Linked DNA regions of Homo sapiens: regions 2, 3 and 4 are each linked to region 1. The links are contacts of gene promoters, found by promoter capture Hi-C in blood cells and fetal thymus (Javierre and others, 2016). All regions are on one chromosome and are shown on one strand. Each heading gives the region's core, a stretch centred on a gene start or on the middle of the fragment in contact. The rest is flanking DNA. Distances are from core to core; before and after follow the strand shown.

The links. The method cuts DNA at HindIII sites, captures the fragments that hold promoters and counts their contacts. A CHiCAGO score of 5 or more calls a contact.
Region 2: a contact is called between the fragment with the promoter of REEP3 here and the fragment with the promoter of ARID5B in region 1, in 2 of 17 cell types (fetal thymus and total CD8 T cells). The highest score is 8.4, in fetal thymus.
Region 3: a contact is called between a fragment that was not itself captured here and the fragment with the promoter of ARID5B in region 1, in 1 of 17 cell types (fetal thymus). The highest score is 8.6, in fetal thymus.
Region 4: a contact is called between the fragment with the promoter of NRBF2 here and the fragment with the promoter of ARID5B in region 1, in 6 of 17 cell types (naive CD8 T cells, monocytes, M0 macrophages and 3 more). The highest score is 8.5, in naive CD8 T cells.

The regions. Positions count from the first base shown.
Region 1 is chr10:61,900,272-61,904,850 of GRCh38, forward strand. ARID5B (AT-rich interaction domain 5B) reads left to right here and starts at 1,428. Exons shown (of 10, transcript NM_032199.3): 1 at 1,428-1,459; 2 at 1,888-2,142. The coding sequence starts at 1,439. RefSeq lists silencers at 1-119, 2,860-3,179 and an enhancer at 1,118-1,620. The HindIII fragment of the contact is 3,094 bases long and covers 1-2,212 here.
Region 2 is chr10:63,518,341-63,523,171 of GRCh38, forward strand. It overlaps REEP3 (receptor accessory protein 3), which reads left to right and starts at 3,061. Exons shown (of 8, transcript NM_001001330.3): 1 at 3,061-3,237. The coding sequence starts at 3,206. It also overlaps a transcript of JMJD1C not described here. RefSeq lists an enhancer at 2,257-2,306 and a silencer at 2,697-3,746. The HindIII fragment of the contact is 3,716 bases long and covers 567-4,282 here.
Region 3 is chr10:63,629,318-63,633,784 of GRCh38, forward strand. No RefSeq gene overlaps it. Among named protein-coding and RNA genes, the nearest start is that of REEP3, 110 kb to the left of the region's middle. RefSeq lists enhancers at 299-478, 489-538 and a silencer at 1,009-1,338. The HindIII fragment of the contact is 955 bases long and covers 1,581-2,535 here.
Region 4 is chr10:63,131,534-63,136,572 of GRCh38, forward strand. It overlaps NRBF2 (nuclear receptor binding factor 2), which reads left to right and starts at 1,795. Exons shown (of 4, transcript NM_030759.5): 1 at 1,795-1,967. The coding sequence starts at 1,938. RefSeq lists silencers at 1,612-1,861, 2,072-2,341. The HindIII fragment of the contact is 9,214 bases long and covers 1-4,883 here.

The sequences.
Region 1 (4,579 bases), core at 178-2,677:
GGAAGGAGTGGGAGGAGAGCGGGGAAGGGGGTGGGGGAACGTGGGGGAAGCGAGTACACCATTTTAAATCAACACTGCGAAAATGCAATCTAGCCTGGCGGAGGACCGGCAGCTGGGTCGGAGCTTGCGAGGGCTTTGCAGTCTCTGCCTGTTCCTTGTTCTGTCGCTCTTAAGTTTCTCTGTGTTTGCATAATAGCCGTGCATGCAAACCTCGCAATGCTCCAGGGCTCCAGAACAATAAATATACACATTTAAAGCCTTTATTGTCTTACGGTTCATGCCCCCGGTTTTCAACAGCTTAATTTCTGGTTGTATTTAACTAGTTTGCAAATGGATTTTTTCAGTTTCAAACTATTATTGAGGAAGCTCCCCTCCCTTTTTTGGCGGGGGAGGGGATGGGGGTGGGGTAGGAGTCGGTATATTATTCCTGTAGCGCTGGGTTATATAAACACATTATCATTTGAGAGCGCCCTTGGCGTCCATCAGCATTGTAAACACGTACTAGTGTATATACTTCAAAATTAAAGAATGCACACGCAGAACCGGGAGCCTGAATTCATATTCTGAGCAGACTCGCTTCTCGCATTTATTGATTTATCATGCATCGTTTATTGTTCCAGTCCCTAAATGCAGTCGCTGTCCGTTCAATATTGTTTGCGAAATCCTAAGATGTGTGTGCACTGCTCACTTGTCTCTTTTTTTTTTGCTGAGTATTTTTTTGCGAAGCGAACAAATGCATTAATATTTATATGTTTATATAATCGATAACCCACTTTTCCCTTCCATGTAAATAGGCATCAAAAGATAATTTAACAGATTAGTTCTCGAAAACATGGCAGTGAGGAAGCGTAATTTAACTATCAAACAAATCTACATGTCTAATAACAGCAAATCTGCTAAGAAGCATTAGAAAGAGGAGCAGCGCCCCGGAATCTCTGCAGGAAATGTTCTTTATATTAGACATATACAAGCAGGTCCTGTCAGATGCACAGTGGAGCTCGCTACCCCTCCTCTCCTCCAAAAATCTCATCAGACGATATCCCAGACAGGAGCGGTTAGAGAGAGAGGAATCACATCTCCACACAGTTTTAGGGTGCTTTTTATTTTTACAAATCTTCTTGTGTGTTTTTTGCCTTGATCCATCCTCTTCCCGCCGAGATCGTATGGCGCCTTTCTCTCGATTATGAATTTGATCAATCCATCTTTGGAAGAAAACCCACATAGTTTTTTCAGGAGCTGAAAATTGAGTCGTTATAGAAATATTAGGACATATTTTCAATCATTTCGGTGCCCGAAGGGAGGCAAGAGCTCAGTTTTATATTGAGACATTACGCCGGCTGAAGGCAGAGAATGCGTTTCCCTGCCAGGACCTGATGCAATCCATTCAAGCCAACAAGTTTGGAGAGAATGTTGAGTTCAATCAATTCAGAACGTCGAGATGGAGCCCAACTCACTCCAGGTATTTCGCTCTCCTCCGCTCCTCCGATCCCGGCACCCCCCGGCACCCCCCAACCCCCCAGCTCACCCACACCTCTGCACCCACCCACACCCCCCACAAACTTTTCACCAAACTTTTACCCTCTGCATCCCCCAAAATCATTTTTATTGTTTAAAAAAATCCCTGCACTGATCATACATACATAATGTAATTTTACCGCCTCAAATGGGGAGGTGGGTAGAAGTGGCGGTGGGGGGCCCTGAGTTTTTTTTTTTTTTTTTTTAGGGAAGCAGAAAATTTGTGGGTGCTATTATTTTTCCACCCAGCGTTATATCTGTTGGGTCGTCTGTATTAAGAGAGTGGATGTCTGTGTGTAAATGTGTCTGGGAATAGATGTTTGTGCTCTGATGGCTACATTATTTATTTGGTGTTTTTTTCCCCCCCTGCAGTGGGTCGGCTCACCGTGTGGCTTGCACGGACCTTACATTTTCTACAAGGCTTTTCAATTCCACCTTGAAGGCAAACCAAGAATTTTGTCCCTTGGCGACTTTTTCTTTGTAAGATGTACGCCAAAGGATCCGATTTGCATAGCGGAGCTCCAGCTGTTGTGGGAAGAGAGGACCAGCCGGCAACTTTTATCCAGCTCTAAACTTTATTTCCTCCCAGAAGACACTCCCCAGGGCAGAAATAGCGACCATGGCGAGGTGGTAAACCTGTCTGTCCCCCTCTTCTTTCTTTATTATTTTTCCCCCTAGTAATGCTTATTACAGGGCAAGCTTGAAAATACTGTATTCACTTCTGCAGGCAAGCAGGATCGACTCCTTTTTTAAAGGGGTAGCGCCACTAGCTGGGGCTCGAGTATTTTGCCATTGTCAGAGTTTGGCTGTCAGCTTTACAAAGAGGATCCAACTGCTGATTTTAGTCAAGATCAAATAACTTGTTCGAGAAGGGTTTTGTTCAAGGATGTGTGTGTGTGTGTGTGTGTGTGTGTGTATGTGTGTGTGTGTGTTCATTTGCTCTCCTGCTATTGCCTCTTGAACATCACATGCTTTTTATATTTTTTGCCTTTTGAAAATTTACCTTCGTGTCTGGCTCGGTCGTGTCTGGGTGGATTTCTTTCGGTGGGTTTCGATATTGTTCTTTTTTCAAAGTAAGTATTTGATATGTTTAAGAGGGCGGAAATTACGAAATGGAGGCAGAATGAGATCAAAAGCTATTGAGTTGGCAAAGACGTGTTGAATAAAGTGATAAATGACAGGTACTGGAATAATACATTCAAATAACTTGCAGATCTGCCCGGGCGGATTTCAAAGCGGTGGTGTAACAGGCACAAACACGTTAAGCATTAACAACTATCTCTCGCCCACTCCCCCTCCCCCCGGACAAGCCATTTGATGTTCTAGTTTGCAATTACTCCACGCAAAGTGGACGTCCTCCTGCGCGATCTTTGGGGGTGTGTGGGACGGGGGCGGGGGAGGGGAGGGCAGAGGGGTGTGTGCTCGCCCACTGGCCCTGCGGGTCCAGCGTTCTCCGTGCCCAGACGGCGCTCCCGGGGAGGGCGGGGAGGGGACAGAGCCTCCCCGGCACGTTTCTGGGCGGCCGCGGGGGCGCTCGCCGCGCTCCCGGGAGGACGCCGGAGGTGAGCCCGCTGTCACTGGGCGCCGGGGCGGCCGCCTCCCTTCGGCTCTGTCATTTCATGTGTGACCGCAGTTCTGCGGGCTCCCCTCCTCAGCTGACCGACCTCAGCGCCGTGGTACCTACCGAGGGGAACTATTTTGGGGAGTCTGTGCCCACGGCGCAGCGGGGAGGGAGGGCGCACTGCCGCCTGGCGAGGCTTTGTGTTGCCAAAGCGAGAGCAGGGTAATCAAACAGACTTTTGAGGGCAGCTAGTGCTGTGCCAGGCTCTCGAGCTTTCGAGGTAGGTGTAAGGATCTAAGGATCTTTTTGTTAAATGAATGGTTTCCCGTTTAACTCATCCCGGGGCTCGGAGCTGCCAGTCCTTCCAGAATTCCTCGGTTTGATCGAGTTGATAGTACTTTTGGCATTGCTAGTTCACTCCCTCTCCCCAGGATCGAATTACTCGTCAGTGGTCTATGCCGGTTAATTACTGGAGTTCGTCGAAACGTTCGCCCTCGAATCTGCCTTTTCGGAAATAAGCCCCTCCCACCTCCCCGCTCACCTCCCCCCTCCACCCTCCCCGGCCAGCTTTGGTTTTTAAATGTTCATATTTCCCGACGTCCGCCTGCAATTTTAAAAAGGTGTTGTTTGGAAATACTGTGAAAAATCCTGCAACCTACCAACAGGTTGAGCTCTTTCCCCCTCCCAAGGTCTGGCTCGGCCCCCTCCCCCGACCCAACTTTCCTGCGCAGCTGTCTTCCTCCCCCTCCCTCTCCCCCTCCTGATTTCTTATTATTTGCTTTTCAAATTTATTACTTCAACATGGCCTGTGATCTGGAAAAGGGAAGGATTAAATATCCAGAAAAGAACTGGTGCTTAACAGACTTCTGACTAAGTCCAGGAGGAAATTATTCAGTGTTTTATGGGATATTTTGTGGTCACTCTTTTTTGGGGGGCGGGGAATTGAAATTGGGATGTTTTTTAAAGACCCTGAGTTGACCCCACTTGGTACAGTTTTAATTTTTGTTGGTGTAATTAAATGGTGAATTCTGATTTAAGAATAAAGGCTATATTTGCCAAACGTTGCATCTGCTAGAAGTGTTGACAGTGAATAGATATATTTTTAAATACACGATTTCTTTTTAATTGTTCATTATGGGGAATTGAAAGGGAACCATTGTAATGATCTGTGCATTTCGTCACTGCTATATGAGCCATACCTGAGAAAATTAATCTTGCCATTTAAAAGTAAACTCTAGGGGGTTTGCGGAGGGAGATGGCTCTATTTATAATCCTCAGCTGCATATACATCGTCTAATATTATGCATGATTTGTTTTTTAATGCTAACACGGCTGGTAATTAGCTGTATGATTATACTTGTATATTTCATTAGGACTTTGGCTGATGTCATTGTGAATTATTCAGCCATATTAAAACAATTTTCAATTGAGATAATGACACGCCTCAAAATTATGCAAATGCAGACTGCATTGTGCAAAATAATTATGACAAATGTAAAGCAG
Region 2 (4,831 bases), core at 1,811-4,310, 1.6 Mb after region 1:
AAAATAACAATATTCCTACAATTTCAAACAAATCCATATACCCTAAATAAGAGTGGAAAAGAGACATGAAAATGATTTATAATAACATATATTTCGACGTGGGGCAAAACTACACTAGAAGACTTAAAGAAGTAACTAGTAGCTGAATATATCTATGAATGCAGAGCTGTTTGTGATACAATTTTCCAAAACTGTAAACAATTCTTGGTCAAGTTGTGAACAAAACAATCTTCCTTCAATTCACATAACCGTTGCATGTGGAAACAGACTCAGTTAAAATTCAGTCTCAGTTAAAATCATGATGCAAGATGGAGGTTCCAGGCTTTGATAATTACAAATACTACATGAAAGTCAGGCAGATATTCTTAAATCATGCAAGACATGGGGACACTTTGTTCAGGACTGTCCCACACCTCTCTAGCCTTCACTCAACAAATGCAAGTTGTTAGCTCCAATCATTACAACAATCTAAAAAATGCCTTCCAGTTTCCCCTTGGAGGGCAACACCAAGCTGGACCCACCGCCTTAAACACAGTTCCGCTATCTATCCCAGTATAATGTAAACAAGCTTGGGAAGCATGAATTAGATCTCCAGTTCTGTTACCAATGACCTATGTGATCACCCGCCAGTTGAGTTAACTTCTCTAAACCTCACTTTCCATGGTACCAAAAGGGAATAAACGCTATATGGCTTTTTAAGTTGTCAGAATGACTCAATGACACGTGTATAGCACATAGTAGGTGGTTTCCAACCCATGGCCTATTGAGATGTGAAAAAAGGCACTGTTCCAGGTAAATAGAAAGAAAGCAGCAAAAAGTAATCTAAATGTGGAAGAGGCAGAAGATATAATAAGCATACAAAATGAAACTTAACGCACAGCAGTCTAGGGACATTTCAGAGAGCAGCCAGCCATCCTACCTAGGTTGCCTTCAGCAACCCCTGAAGGCATTAATGTACTAGGATTAGCTGAAATAATTAATATTCACAATGATGACCTCCAAAGTAAAAAGGCAAGAAAGACATTTTTAAGAGACTTCCAATGTACGTGGCTGAAATTTTTTAAATCTGATGCCTAAAGAGTGACTGTATTTCACAAACATTATTCAAATTTTTATTGGACGTTTACCCTATCTGAGGCTAGATAGTTGGAAAACACAAAGAAATCTAATACACCATGTCTGTTCTCAAACATTTTACCATTCAGTACATTAGACATGGTAGAGGCAGAATGACACAGATAAGAAATAGAAATTCAAGTAATAAATTATGAGAGCACAGACAAAATTAGGAATAATTGTCCCTGAGGAAAACCAAGGATGTCTTCATGGCACAGGCCACTGAAAAATGAGAGTTCTGATAGGTACAGAATGGGGAGCAAAGTGTTAAGGGAAAAACGAAATCTGGGCAAAAGCACTGAGCATGAAAATACAGGTTGGCTGAAAGAAGAGAGGTAGGGAACGGGTACATTAGGAGTTGGGGGTGAAAGTAGTAAAAGTAAAGGCTGTAAAGCTATTTCAGGACCTTTCATGAAGGGATCTGAATGATATTCAAATTCATTTGAGTTTTATTGAACAAGAGAGTTCGCCAAAAAACTGGTGCTTATGCAGCACACCTGATCCTCAAATAATGCTGAATAATGGCCAAAAATAAAAGATTCAGAGTTAAATGCAAATTATTACTCAAATTCCTGAAATAAAAAGTCTTGACATGAATTAATAAGCGAAAAGAACCTAACCCAAGAGTAGAAAGTAGCTTCTGAGCTTGTTTCTTAAATAATGAAATATTACCCAATTTATTGACTGAGAACTGAAAATAATTTAGGATAATCTGTTGTGTCCTTTGATTGTCTTCCATGCAAGTCAGAGTATTTCCTAAACATATTATTTAGCAGTGCCTCATATCACCCTTGAAAGGCAAGAGACAGACTACAGTATTATTACCCCCTTTTTATCACAGGGAAACTGAGGAACAAGAAGACAAAATTACAGTATGGTCACAAAAGCCATCATATTTTCTAGGACTTTAATTAAAGGCTCCAAGCCTACATTTCATCTTTTATTCTTCGCACCATCTGAATACTAGAATTATCTTTTACTATCGTCTTAACTGGAAAAAATAAAAATATCTAAACTTTAACATCATTTTCTCAATTTGGTACTGTCACAAAAAAAAAAAAAAAACAGTTTTAAAAGTCTGCCCTTGAAATGATATTTGCAAGAACAGCAAGGTGTAAGCAGTAACCCAACCTCCAAAAAATACAGTTGTAAATCTTACAGCTGTAATATAGTTGTAAATCTTAAGACAGGTCAGGAATCCTAGACCCAGCCTTTACTTTGAACATCTGGCAGGCCTCAGGGAAATAATGGAGATTCGTGTCTGTAAACAGTCTTTGCAGATGCTCTGATGAAAAGGTGCCCTAAGAGGCCCAGAACAGTGGTATCACTGCACCCACTACTGCAAACATGAAATCCTCCTCTGTCCCTCCCTGCATTGCACCACGAGACTCGTGGCACACACGGAGGCCTGTGCAAGAACCTCTCGACGATTCCTTTAAAATGTGGTAATATAAGGACGCCTTTGGTGCTGGGCCTCCGTAAACACTGAGGATACCGGATGTGGCCAGGCACACCTCAAAGTCTTGGCTCTCCAAAACCAGGGCCTGGTCGAGAGTTTTATTGGACACCGAGTTCCTGCGAATATCTCACTTTTCACACAGGCACTGCCAATCCCTACCCTCCAGTACCCTTCCTCAGCCTCCTGCCCCACTCTCGCCGCGAGTGTGGGCGTCCCAAAGAGCTAAGGAGGGTAAGGTTGGTTAGAGCGCAGGGGCCAAGGCCGCGGCAGCGAGGCCGTCCAGCGCGGGCTAGGATCCCGCCAGCCCAGCCCTGGAGCCCGGCCGCCTGGCCCCAGCCCTGGCCCGGGCCAACGCGCCGCCGCCACCGCCTATCAGCGGAGCGCAGGGGCGGGGTGCTGTCCGGACTAGGCTGCCGGGCCGGCGGGCGGGGGCGGGCGGGGACGGGCGGGGGACCGACCTCTGCGCAGCCCAGGCCGCCGCGCGCACACACCGGGCCCGGCTCCTGAGGGCGCCAGCGCGGCCCCGGGGAGCGCGAGGAGCCGGCGAAGCGCGCGGCCTGCCGTTGGCGGCCTGGTCCGCAGCGCCCTGCGCCCACCCGCCCCGGACGTGGGGCCCAAGCCCCCGTGAAGATGGTGTCCTGGATGATCTCCAGAGCCGTGGTGTAAGTGCCTCTCACTGCGCCCTGCAGCCGGCGCGAGGCCCAGGGGAGCTGTGGGAAGGGGAAGGAGCCGAGAGGAAAGGGAAGGCCTGGGCCTGGGCGGGGACGGGGTAGCCCGGCCTCGGGCCTGCCGAGGGTCTGGGGGAGCCCTCGGCTTCCTCACCTTGGTCCACGTCGCTGCGGAGCTCCCTGCGACGGCCGAGGGCCTAGCTGCGGCGACTGCGGCTGCGACGGCGGCGGCGGCTGTGGCGCTGCTCGGCTGCGTGCGGTGCGGCGCGGCGCCCCTGCTCCGGCGGCGCTGGGTGGGCAGGCGCTCAGGGCAGGCGGCGCGCGCTCCCCGCTCCTGCTCCCCGCGCAGCGCGGCACCGCCCTGCGGGCCCGGGAGCGGCGCGCCTCGCAGCTGCTCCCTGCGCAGGCTCCGCAGACGCCGAGCGCGGGAGGCTCCGCGATCCTCCCGAGGATGCGACGGCAGTGCCGAGCCTTTGTATCCCGCGGCTGATGCGTTGCGGTGTCTCTCTTGGCGGCTGATTGCCATTCGGTCACGTGTGGTAGGAGGAGAGATTTGTCTAAAAACCGGAGACCGCTCCCAGCCCAGGATCCCTGGGAAGGGTCCTAGTTTTCCCAAGATTTGCAGCTTACCGAGAAAGGTGACACCGGCTGCTCGCCCAGATCCCCGAATTCGGCCCTGTCTCGGCGGAAATATTTGCTAAGTGATTGAAAGGCTGCAGGTGCCTGTTGCCTTTGTTCAAATTATGGGTTCATTTCATTGTTCTCCTACCAACAAGTGCTACAGGTCTGTAAGAAAAAGAAATTCCTTGAGTTGGTGGTGTTAATCGTGTAAATGTATTTGAATACAGTTTAAACTGATTTTCTCTCATCTCCATTTTACCCCTCTCCCCGATTAAAAAAAAAGTCACCAAGTAAACAATGACGTAGTTACAGCTAGGGCCTATGAATTCATTATTCACCTCTGTAGTAGTGTTATCTCAGAAGGTTTCATAAAGGTATATGAAAAAATGTTTATGTGAGGGGGCAGGCTTCTCTGATAAGCTTTAGAATTTAGGAAAAATAACATTACCAGACTTTTTGTTAAAAGGAGCTAGATTTTCTGAGTTTGGGGTTTATTTTGTTTGGAAGTGAATTACTAGCCCTATTTAATCAGATTTGCAGCACAGCATTCAAAATTTTTCATTTGATTAAATCGCAAAGTTTCTAGTTTTAAAGCCTCAGAGCTTCCTGTGTTCCCCTGTACGAAACTAAAAATCAAGATATAAACAAAAGGATACCACAGATGCCTTCAGATTGTTTTTCAGCCTTTTCCTGGCCTCTCTTTTGAGTCTGTCATTTATCTAATTCAGGCATACCTTTCTTGACCTAGTAGATGTCTATCAACTGTTGTGTCCACACCTAGAAAATCAAGTGCCCTATTAAGAAGCTGTACTTTACAAAAAAAAAAAAAAAAGCCTCTGGATTTCTTTGACCAGTTCTTCAGCTGACAGAAAATTGTGAAGCACTTTTAGACTTTTGTTTTTCATAATTGCCAATGAATATGAATGTCTGTTCTAGGTGCTACCTATAACACAAAGGTCAGTAACAC
Region 3 (4,467 bases), core at 808-3,307, 1.7 Mb after region 1:
TCTATAAAATAACGACAGTTGTATGGTAGGACACAGAAATCCCAGCGGTAAAGTGTGATTGGGCTTAGCTATTATTGGAGTGTTAAAAGAGTACCGGGAATATATTTGGCTTGTCCTGTTCTGTCAGTTCTGTAGGCCGGTGGATTAAGCTGATAGAAATGCTTTTTGGTTGATTTAAACCAGATGCTCCGACTATTTTTGTCCCGTTTGCAGGCGCAGAAGCTCTGCATAAGGCAATACTGCCCCCCTCGGCCGACCGCCAACTGCAAGGCGTAGGAGACTGCTCTCCACTAGCCACCTCGGCCATAAAACCCTTTCAAGTCCCTATTATTATTCCAGGCACATTCCAAGGGGATTGAGTCACAGAGTTCACTTGGCTTTTCTCCTGCCCTGAACTGCCTGTACCAGGTGGAATACGACTCTCAACTTCAAATATGGAATCCAAAAGCAGTCAAAGAGCGCTTTAGAGCAAGCCCCAGATGCGAACTCTACTGCCACTTCTCCCCCTCCCCCAACTGGGGTTTGCTGGCTGCGCAGCTGTAGTCCCACGCCAGCACTAAGGTCGCCTGGTCGACAAATGAGGGTTTTCTTTGGGGCATCCTGTAGAGCTGTCCTATTTTCTCTACCACTTTGAGAAGCCCCAAGGGCTGCTTGGCGGCGAGGCACAGACTGGGCTGAAAACTTTTCCGTTGGGCAGTGCGTCCCGGAGACCCAGGAGGCCCAGGCCGGGAGCCCAGGGGGCTGGAGGTTCTGCTGGCTTTTAAGTCTGCTAGGAGGGAAAACTCCCAGCCCCTCCCACGCGTCCTCCCAGACTCGCCGGCCGCCTGCCCCGGGCGGGGAACGCGCACATCTGGCGGCCCAGGAGCCACATCTGATGCACTAACCCCCGCACCCAGATGTCCAAGAGGCCGGGGGAGTCAAAGAACGCCAGGGGCGGGGCGACCGCGGCTGCGGCTCCTCCCTCGGGCAGAGGGAGTCCAGATGCGAGGGACGCCCTCCAGAGCCGAGCTGGGCCGGCCGGGCAGCTAGGGTGCTGGGAGGTTGCGGTGCAGGGTGGGTGGGTGCAGTGAGGCTGGAGCCACGCTGGGGGGGCTGGGCTGGCGGGGGGAGGCTGGAGCCGCGCCGGGGAGAGGGAGGCGGCGGTTGGGTGCTGGAGGGCGCTGGTGCCGTGCCAGTGGGCGGTGGCGCCTTACGCCACCCGCCCCACCCCCGTCACCGTGCCCGCCCCACTGCGTGGGATTTTACAACCTAGGTCCCCGGGAGGTGGTGGTGGAGGGAGGGGCGGCGGGGACGTTTCCGGGGCGGGGGAGGGGCGCACTGCTCCAGAACTGGACCGAGGGCGGGGCTCCCCTCTGCTTCTCCCCTCTGTTCCAGCGCTGAGACGCAGGCCTTTCCTGGCGCGAAGCGACTCGCCCCGGAGCTCCCCTGCACCGTCCTGGGTGTCAGGACGCGTCAACCCAGATGACCCGACCCGGAGATCCTGGATCCTCTGCCCTCTTCCCCCTACCAAGTCCTTAACCGGAGAGGGAGGAGCTACCAATGTCCTCCAGACGTTCTCCAAAGCCCGAGCTGCCGGGAGAAGCTTGCTCAAGGCGGGTGCGCCCCTCAGACGTTTGTTTGCACGCAGGGGTTTTGACGTTTCGCTAAGCAACAGCGTTTGCCAGGGAATCAGGGCTGTTTCGAAGAGCTTGCGTCTATTTGATGCTCCCATCTTGAACAAATCGTTTCCATTCGATTTGTTTAACCAAGGCGAGGGCGGACTATGTTGTTACTTAAAAGTTATTCTTCATCCAAGCTGTCCTCAGATTTTCATCTAAGGGTGTCATAACACCCCAGGTCGTTGCGCAAATGTTTTGTGACAATTTAGAAAACCAGAGGGGGGAAATATCCTTAGAGAAAAAATCATAACCAACAAGAAAATTATGTTAAATGATGTTGGTCCTTTTTCATCGGATGGTCCCAGTTGACACATAGTCTTTTACAAAACCAGTGACTATTCACAGTCTTCAATTTATGGCACATCTCCCGGTGGGGGCGAAGTGCATGAATGGGTCCCACCTTATTCACCAGCTGAAACTCTGAACAAGCCTTGGGGTTTCCTCTCCCAAAGACTGCCAGGCTTCACTAAGAATCAAAACAAAACAGGATACTAAATGCCTGCGGTAAGTTTTCAAATATGAGCTCTTCCATTGCTTATTTCTGTGAATTGTGGCAAATTGCATAATGTCTTTTGCCCCTGGTGCTGCTTAGAGACAGGGTCTCACTGTGTTGCGCAGGCTAAAGTACAATGGCACGATCCTAGCTCGTTGCAGCCTCAAACCCCTGGGCTCAGACTATCCTCTGGCCTCAGCCTCCCAACCAGCAAGGGTTACAGTCGCATGCCACCACACCTGGTTAATTTTTTATTTTTGTTTTTTAGAGATAGGGGACTCACTATGTTGCCCAGGCTCGCCTGAAATTCCTAGCCTCAAGCATTCCTCCCAGCTCAGCCTCCCAAAGTGTTGAGATTACAGGCGTGAGCCACCATGCCTGGCAAGCTTCATCATTTCTAAAATGTAACTGTATATTTTAGAGTAGCATAGGAGTGGTGTAAGGGTTAAGGATTAATGATACTGCAAATCAAGTGCTTAACACAAAGTTTAATGCATAGGAAGAACATAATTGTTATTATCAATGTGAGTAGACTGTTTACCACCAAAATGAAAGGTGTGGGCAATGGTAACTGGGTAGCCTCCAGAGATCCTTTTTTAAAAGGAGTATGAGTTTTAATACATTCGTTGAATGAATAAAACCCACAACACTCTAGGCACATCTCCAGTCCTTGCCCTGGCAGGGCTTTCAGTCTAACTAGAGGAAATTGGATGAAATGATAATGATGCATACCTAGTCTTTCGTCATACTGTGAAAGCCTTTTAAAACATGGATTTGACTTCTGGGTTTCCCATTATAACCACTTCCCAAAGAAGATTGTTCGTTCTTTCAGAAAATTTCACTAGGGTGATGATAAGGTATTAACAGATGTATGTTGAAAACATCCTCTTCCTTTTTCTGTGTAGCCCCTTCTTCCTTTGGAATTTTAGAAGAATCTGATCAAGGCAACCTCTGTATTAAGTGAAAATTTGGGAACTCAAAAATATATTAGATGCACAGAAAGTGCAATTCTGAAAAGGTCAGGGCTATTGCGTATAGAGGGGAGCTGCTGAAACTATAGGAGTCTTTTAAATTTTTCAGGCTCAGCTTCCTTTGCTTTAAAGTTAAAGAAGGGTTGGACTAGTTCTTCCTTCCTGCACTCAAACTCTTTGGTTTCAAAGGTAGCTGTGTCCAGGTATTTTCTGTGTATTCCAGAGCCCTGACCAGGAGGGGAAGGACTTTGAGAGGCTTTGGGCTTGACAAAATATCATGACCAAGTGTGGTGGCTCACACCTGAAATCCCAGACTTTGGGAGGCTGAGGCAGGAGGATCGCTTGAGCCCAGGAGTTTGAGACTAGTGTGGGCAACATAGTGAGACCCTGTCTCTTAATAAAAAAAAAAAAAAGGAGAAAGAGAAAAAAAAACCATGGAGTGAAGAGAGGCTAAGGAACTCAGACCAGTACTGAATTATAAAGCAAGGTAAAGTGTCTATAACCAGGTATATATTAACGTATTTCTTTCTTTTTTTTTTTTTTGAGACAAGAGTCGCGCCCTGTCACCAGACTGGAGTGCAGTGGCATGATCTTGGCTCACTGCAACCTCTGCTTCCCAGGTTCAAGTGATTCTCCTGCCTTGGCCTCCTAAGTAGCTGGGACTACAAGGCGCATGCCACCATGCCCAGCTAGTTTTTTGTTTTTTGTTTTTTTGTTTTGTTTTGTTTTGTTTTTTTTAAGTAGAAATGGGGTTTCACTATGTTGGCCAGGATGGTCTCGATCTCTTGACCTCGTGATCCGCCTGCCTCAGCCTCACAAAGTGCTGGGATTACAGACATGAGCCACCACGCCCAGTCGTATTTCTTTCCTTTTTTTTTTTTTTTTTTTTTGAGATAAAGTCTCACTCTGTCACCCAGGCTGGAGAGCAATGGCATGATCTCGGCTCACTGCAACCTCCACCCCCCGAGTTCAAGCAATTTTCCTGCCTCAGCCTCCCGAGTAGCTGGGACTGCAGGCGTGTGCCACCACGCCCAGCTAAATTTTGTATTTTTAGTAGAGACGAGATTTCACCATGTTGGCCAGGCTTGTCTCGAATTCCTGACCTTGTGATCCGCCCGCCTCAGCCTCCTAAAGTGCTGGGATTACAGGTGTGAGCCACGGTGCCCGGCCAACATATTTCAATATATATAGTGGATATATTAATATATACATTGGTATATATATTTTAAAAATAAGAGGTACCTATGTATTTATTTCTGGCTTATCTATAGTATAGATTCTGTATACACACAGATCACCCTGTGAGTCTTCCTAATACCTACAAAACAGGTAGAATTTTCTTCTT
Region 4 (5,039 bases), core at 545-3,044, 1.2 Mb after region 1:
CCTTCCAGGTTCAAGCAATTCTCCTGCCTCAGTCTCCCCAGTAGCTGGGATTACAGGCACGCGCCACCACACTTGGCTACGTTTTAGTGCTTTTAGTAGAGATGAAGTTTCACCACGTTGGCCAGACCAGTCTCAAACTCCTGGCCTCAAGTGATCTGCTCTCCTTGACCTCCCAAAGAGCTGGGATTACAGGGGTGAGCCAGTGTGCTAGGCCACTTGGTTGTTTAAATACGAGATTTGATTCTTCCATTTTCTGTATGCTTTACTGCCATTCCATCACTAACTCCTCTCAACCTGATGCCCAAAAATATATCTTGAATATATCTACTTCTCTTCCAAGGTTTCCGGCACATGGTAGAAACATGATAACTATGTAATGAGTGGATGCATGACCCAATCTTCCCTACTTCCATTCCAGTCTGAGCGCCCATAATTAGTCAATCAACTAGCTTGTCTTGGTTCTTTTTCCTTAGGCCTTCCACAATCTATTCTTCACATTACAGGGAAATTAATCTTTTCAAAACTGTAAATTAAAGCAGATTATTCTCTAGCTTAATATCCTTTACTTATTTCCCAATGCACTTTGAGTAAAATTCAAATGTTTCATTGTGCACTGCAAGGACACCTATGTTTTGGAAGTTTCCTATCTCTCTGGTATCTTCTTTTGCATCTCTCTGAAATGCTGCAGCTCCCGCCACCCGACCTCCCCGCCTTTAGAGTTGAGGCATAAGACATTTCCTTTGTCGAGAAGGGTCTTTGTTTAACTGGCATTTTAAGGTTTAATCTTAAAGATTACGCCCTTAGCCAGGTGCGGTAGCTCATGCCTATAATCCCATCAGTTTGTGAGGTCCAGGAGGGCGGATCATTGAGCTCACTTGAGCTCAGCAGTTCAAGATCAGCATAGGCAACATGGCGAAACCCCATCTCTACAAAAAATACAAAAATTAACCTGGCCTGAGCACTTGTAGTTCCTAGCTACTTAAGAGACTGAGGTGTGAGGATCGCCTGGGGCAGGGGGCGGGCAGAGGGAGGTTGCAGTGAGTGGAGATTGCGTCAGCAAGACACTTTCTCAAAAAAAATCACGCCCCCCATGAAAGGCTTTCCTTTACCACCCAACTCCACCTTGGTTACTCTATCACAGCTCCCTATGTGTTCCCTTTCCAGCATAAATCACAACTATTTGTCAGTGAATTCCATGACAGAACGAACCTAGCTTTTGTTTGGCACATAATTGTTAAATGAATGCAGTATTATATTTGGCTAGACCAAAATTGTTTCCCTATCAGTTTGTGAGCAACTTGAGGGCAGAGCCCTAAATCATTCGAGTGTGCTGACCTCTAGGGGGGTTAGTCCAGTGCATGGTCTAGAATTGCTCAAATCGGCCTTTTGAAAAAATGAATCATGTACAATGATAAAGGTGTGGACAGGACCACAAGTAACGGTGTAACGATTAGCAGATTTAAGGAAAAGTCAGTCTAAAAGGAAACGTGAGAAGCTAATTGCAGAAGACAGCCATTTCAAGTCTTCAACAGCAAGGCTGTACCTCCTCACGTGACTTCAGTGTAGACTTTAAGAACCTAAACTAACGCTTCTCGCGAGAGGAAAGATTGACCGCTCGCAAGCGTACATCAGCTGGTGCCCCGCCTTCCCTGGGCCCCACCCACTGCCTGTCCTCATTCCCACCTTGAACCAGCCTTTTGCGCGTGTGACGTCATGGCGCCGTGCGTGGCCTCGGCGGTGGCGCAGGGGGCGGGCCCGCGGCGCGGCGCCGGAGGAGGAAGTGGTGAGGTTGTTGCTCCTTCAGCGCCTATCGCTGGCTCTTGGGGCGCAGAGAGGGGCCGCAGTCTCCGCGGCTGCGTCGAGCTCCCTTGCAGTCCCCTCCATGTTCCCCGGCGCCACTACTCCCCTTCCTAAGGCCGCCGCTTACCCCGGGGTCTATGGAAGTAATGGAAGGACCCCTCAACCTGGTGAGTGTCCCACAGAATATAGCGTTCGTCTTGGGTGCCTTTGCCTCAGGAGCCCGGCCCCGTCCCCGGCGCGTCGGCTAACCCTTTAGGCTGGGAGGTTGGTTTGGCAGGAGTGGTCGCAGAGGCTGTGAGGGGCTGCTAGGCAGGCCCTGGCCCAACTGCGGCTCCAGGCTAGCCACTTCAGACTTTGCCCTCCTGGGGGATCCCCGGGAAGTCCTGGCGCCCCCTGTCGCGGGGCCCCGGGCGAGGGGATGCCACCACCTGGGGCTGCCACCTCCTCTCTGGCTGGGGGAAGTCCTCTTAGCGCCACGTAGCCACCTCCCTACAGCCTGGAGAGGCACTGAAGCCGGCCAAGGCAGAAATGGTGTGATACTGGTTTTAAGTTCTAGCAGCAGGGTCTGAGTCTGAGTCGCCCCGCTTTGGAGAGGTGGAGGAGTGAATAGCCTCCTCACCCTCCACTTCCCCCTCCTCACCCTTCACTTCCCCCTCCTCACCCTCCACTTCCCCCTCCTCACCCTCCACTTCCCCCTCATTTCTCACATACATTCACATGCATAAACTGAGTCTACCGTCTTCCAAATATATTAGAGACAGCTGGGAAAAAGACAGCCGTTCCTGTATTTAGCTCAGATTCATCAATTTAGGCATCATGAAAGTGTAATAGGTGTTTGCTGTTCTCAGGAAAATGGCTGATAGCCTGTTTACTTGTGTTTTAAGGCGTTTCAGGTGTTGCAATTAAAAAACAACACAACAGAACCCCACTAACAACGGGAAGCATGAGTTCTTTTCAGACTGGCCATTGCATCTTTTAGTTTTCCAGAGAGGTTACCCATTTTGGATGTAAAAGTCAGATTACTTAAGGTTGCACACAGGAAGAACTTTTGAGTCACAGGTTTGCAATTCATTTGCGATGGTGGAATTGAAAGAAAGCTCTATAGAGGATTCTTTTCTCACATTAGAACTCTGAGTCCTAGAAGAGCAGTAGAGTCAGGTGGTTTAAGACTCTAGGTTTTGAAGCTATGCTGCTTGGATTTGAATTCTAACCTCGTCACTTGATATCTGTGTTACCTTGGGCAAACTACTTGGCTTCACTCGGCTTCAGGTTTTTTGGGAGGATTAAAGGAGTAAATAGGTGTAAAGCACTTAGAACTGTACTAAGTACATAGTACAGTGTAAGAGTTAGCGATTATAACCAGACCATAAGCCCTTAATTTAAAATCTATTTGTAGAATAAAGGTTTGGACTTGAGCTTTAAAAGCCTAAGATTCTCGGACCAAATCACTGGTGCCAGGTTAACTGTTGTGAGGCGCCCCTCCCTTTTAAGTTGGGTCTTGCCCCAGGTGGTAGGTATTTACACTTAAGACGAATTGGACTACATTTGCGAGTTTTTTTTAACCAGGGAACTGGCCAGGCGCCGGGGCTCACGCCTGTAATCCCAGCACTTTGGGAGGCCGAGGCGGGCGAATCACTTGAGCTTAGAAGTTCGAGACCAGCCTGGGCAACATGGCGAAACCCGGTCTCTACAAAAAATACAAAAATAGCCTGGCGTGGTGGCGCCCGCCTGTGGTCCCAGCTACTCGGGAGGCTGAGGTGGCAGGATCGCTTGAGCCCAGGAGGTGGAGGTTGCAGTGGGCCGAGATTGTGCCACTGCACTCCAACCTGGGCGACAGAGCGAGACTCTGACTCAAATAACCAGGGAACTGTCTTGCACTTTTCTTGTTTTTAAGGCGACATATAGTTGGCAATGAAATACAGTGGATGGCTCAATACTGAAACTTCACAGGAGTATTACTAGAAATAATCAGCTGTTTACGAAGTGCTTCAGAGTTCAGGTGTCCTTGCCAAATGAGCATTGGTTCAGTTCTAGTTAGCTTCACATTATTTGGCTGCAGAATAACCCCCGCCAACTGCCCCACGAATGTGTGATGTTTTAAAAGGAGACTAGAACTGGGTGACAGTTGCAGATAGAACTGCAGAATCACTACCAGTTCAGGAAAAATTAGTTAAATGGTGGCAATACCATTTAAATTCTCCTCCATAAAACGGAGCGAGTTTCGACAGAGTCTTTTTAAGCAGGCTAGCGTAACTCCGTATTTCAGCCATAAAATTTATGTAGGCAAGTATCAGAAATTTGGCATCTTGAATTCTTTTTTTTTTTTTTTTTTGAGATGGAGTCTCTCTCTGTCACCAGACTAGAGTGCAGTGGCGCGATCTCAGCTCACTGCAACCTCCGACTCCCTGGTTTAAGCGATTCTTCTGCCTCAGCCTTCTGAGTAGCTGGGATTTCAGGCACGCGCCGCCACGCCCAGCTAATTTTTGTATTTTTAGTAGAGACGGGGTTTCACCATGTTGGCCAGGATGGTCTCGATCTCCTGACCTCGTGATCCCCCCGCCTGGCCTCCCAAAGTGCTGGGATTACAGGCGTGAGCCAGCGTGCCCGGCGGACACCTTGAATTCTTAAACCATTTGAGTCTTGAAAGATCTAATTTCCAGCATAGTTGTTTATTGGAAGGTAACAGTAGAACAGACGTTGACGGTTACTTGAATGAGTACCAATTACAGGCCTCTGGCACTCAGAATTGTCACTCACAGTTTTATAAGATGAGGTTTTTGAAAATTCAGACTTTTTTTTTTTTTTTTTTTCTTTTTTGAGACGGAGTCTCGCTTTGTCACCCAGGCTAGAGTGCAGTGGTGCGATCTGGGCTCACTGCAGCCTCCACCTCCCGGGTTCAAGCAGTTCTCTGCCTCAGCCTCCTGAGTAGCTGGGATTACAGGCATGCACCACCCTGCCCGGCTATGAAAATTCTGACATTCTTTTATGTCAGTGAACACCTAACTTAGTATCTAGTTGACTCAAGATGAGAGTTCTCAATGCTATAATTTGAATGTCTTTGAAAATTCCACTAGTATTATACAAGCTTTTTCTTTTTCTATACTCAGAGAGTTACTAATGCAATAAGCTTTGTCAAATGACGTCGTAGTGTAGTCCAAATTCATTGTATAAGGACTTATCACAGTACATGGATTTGTAATCATGTGTCCTCAGAGCATCCTCGGAACTTAGTAAGGTGT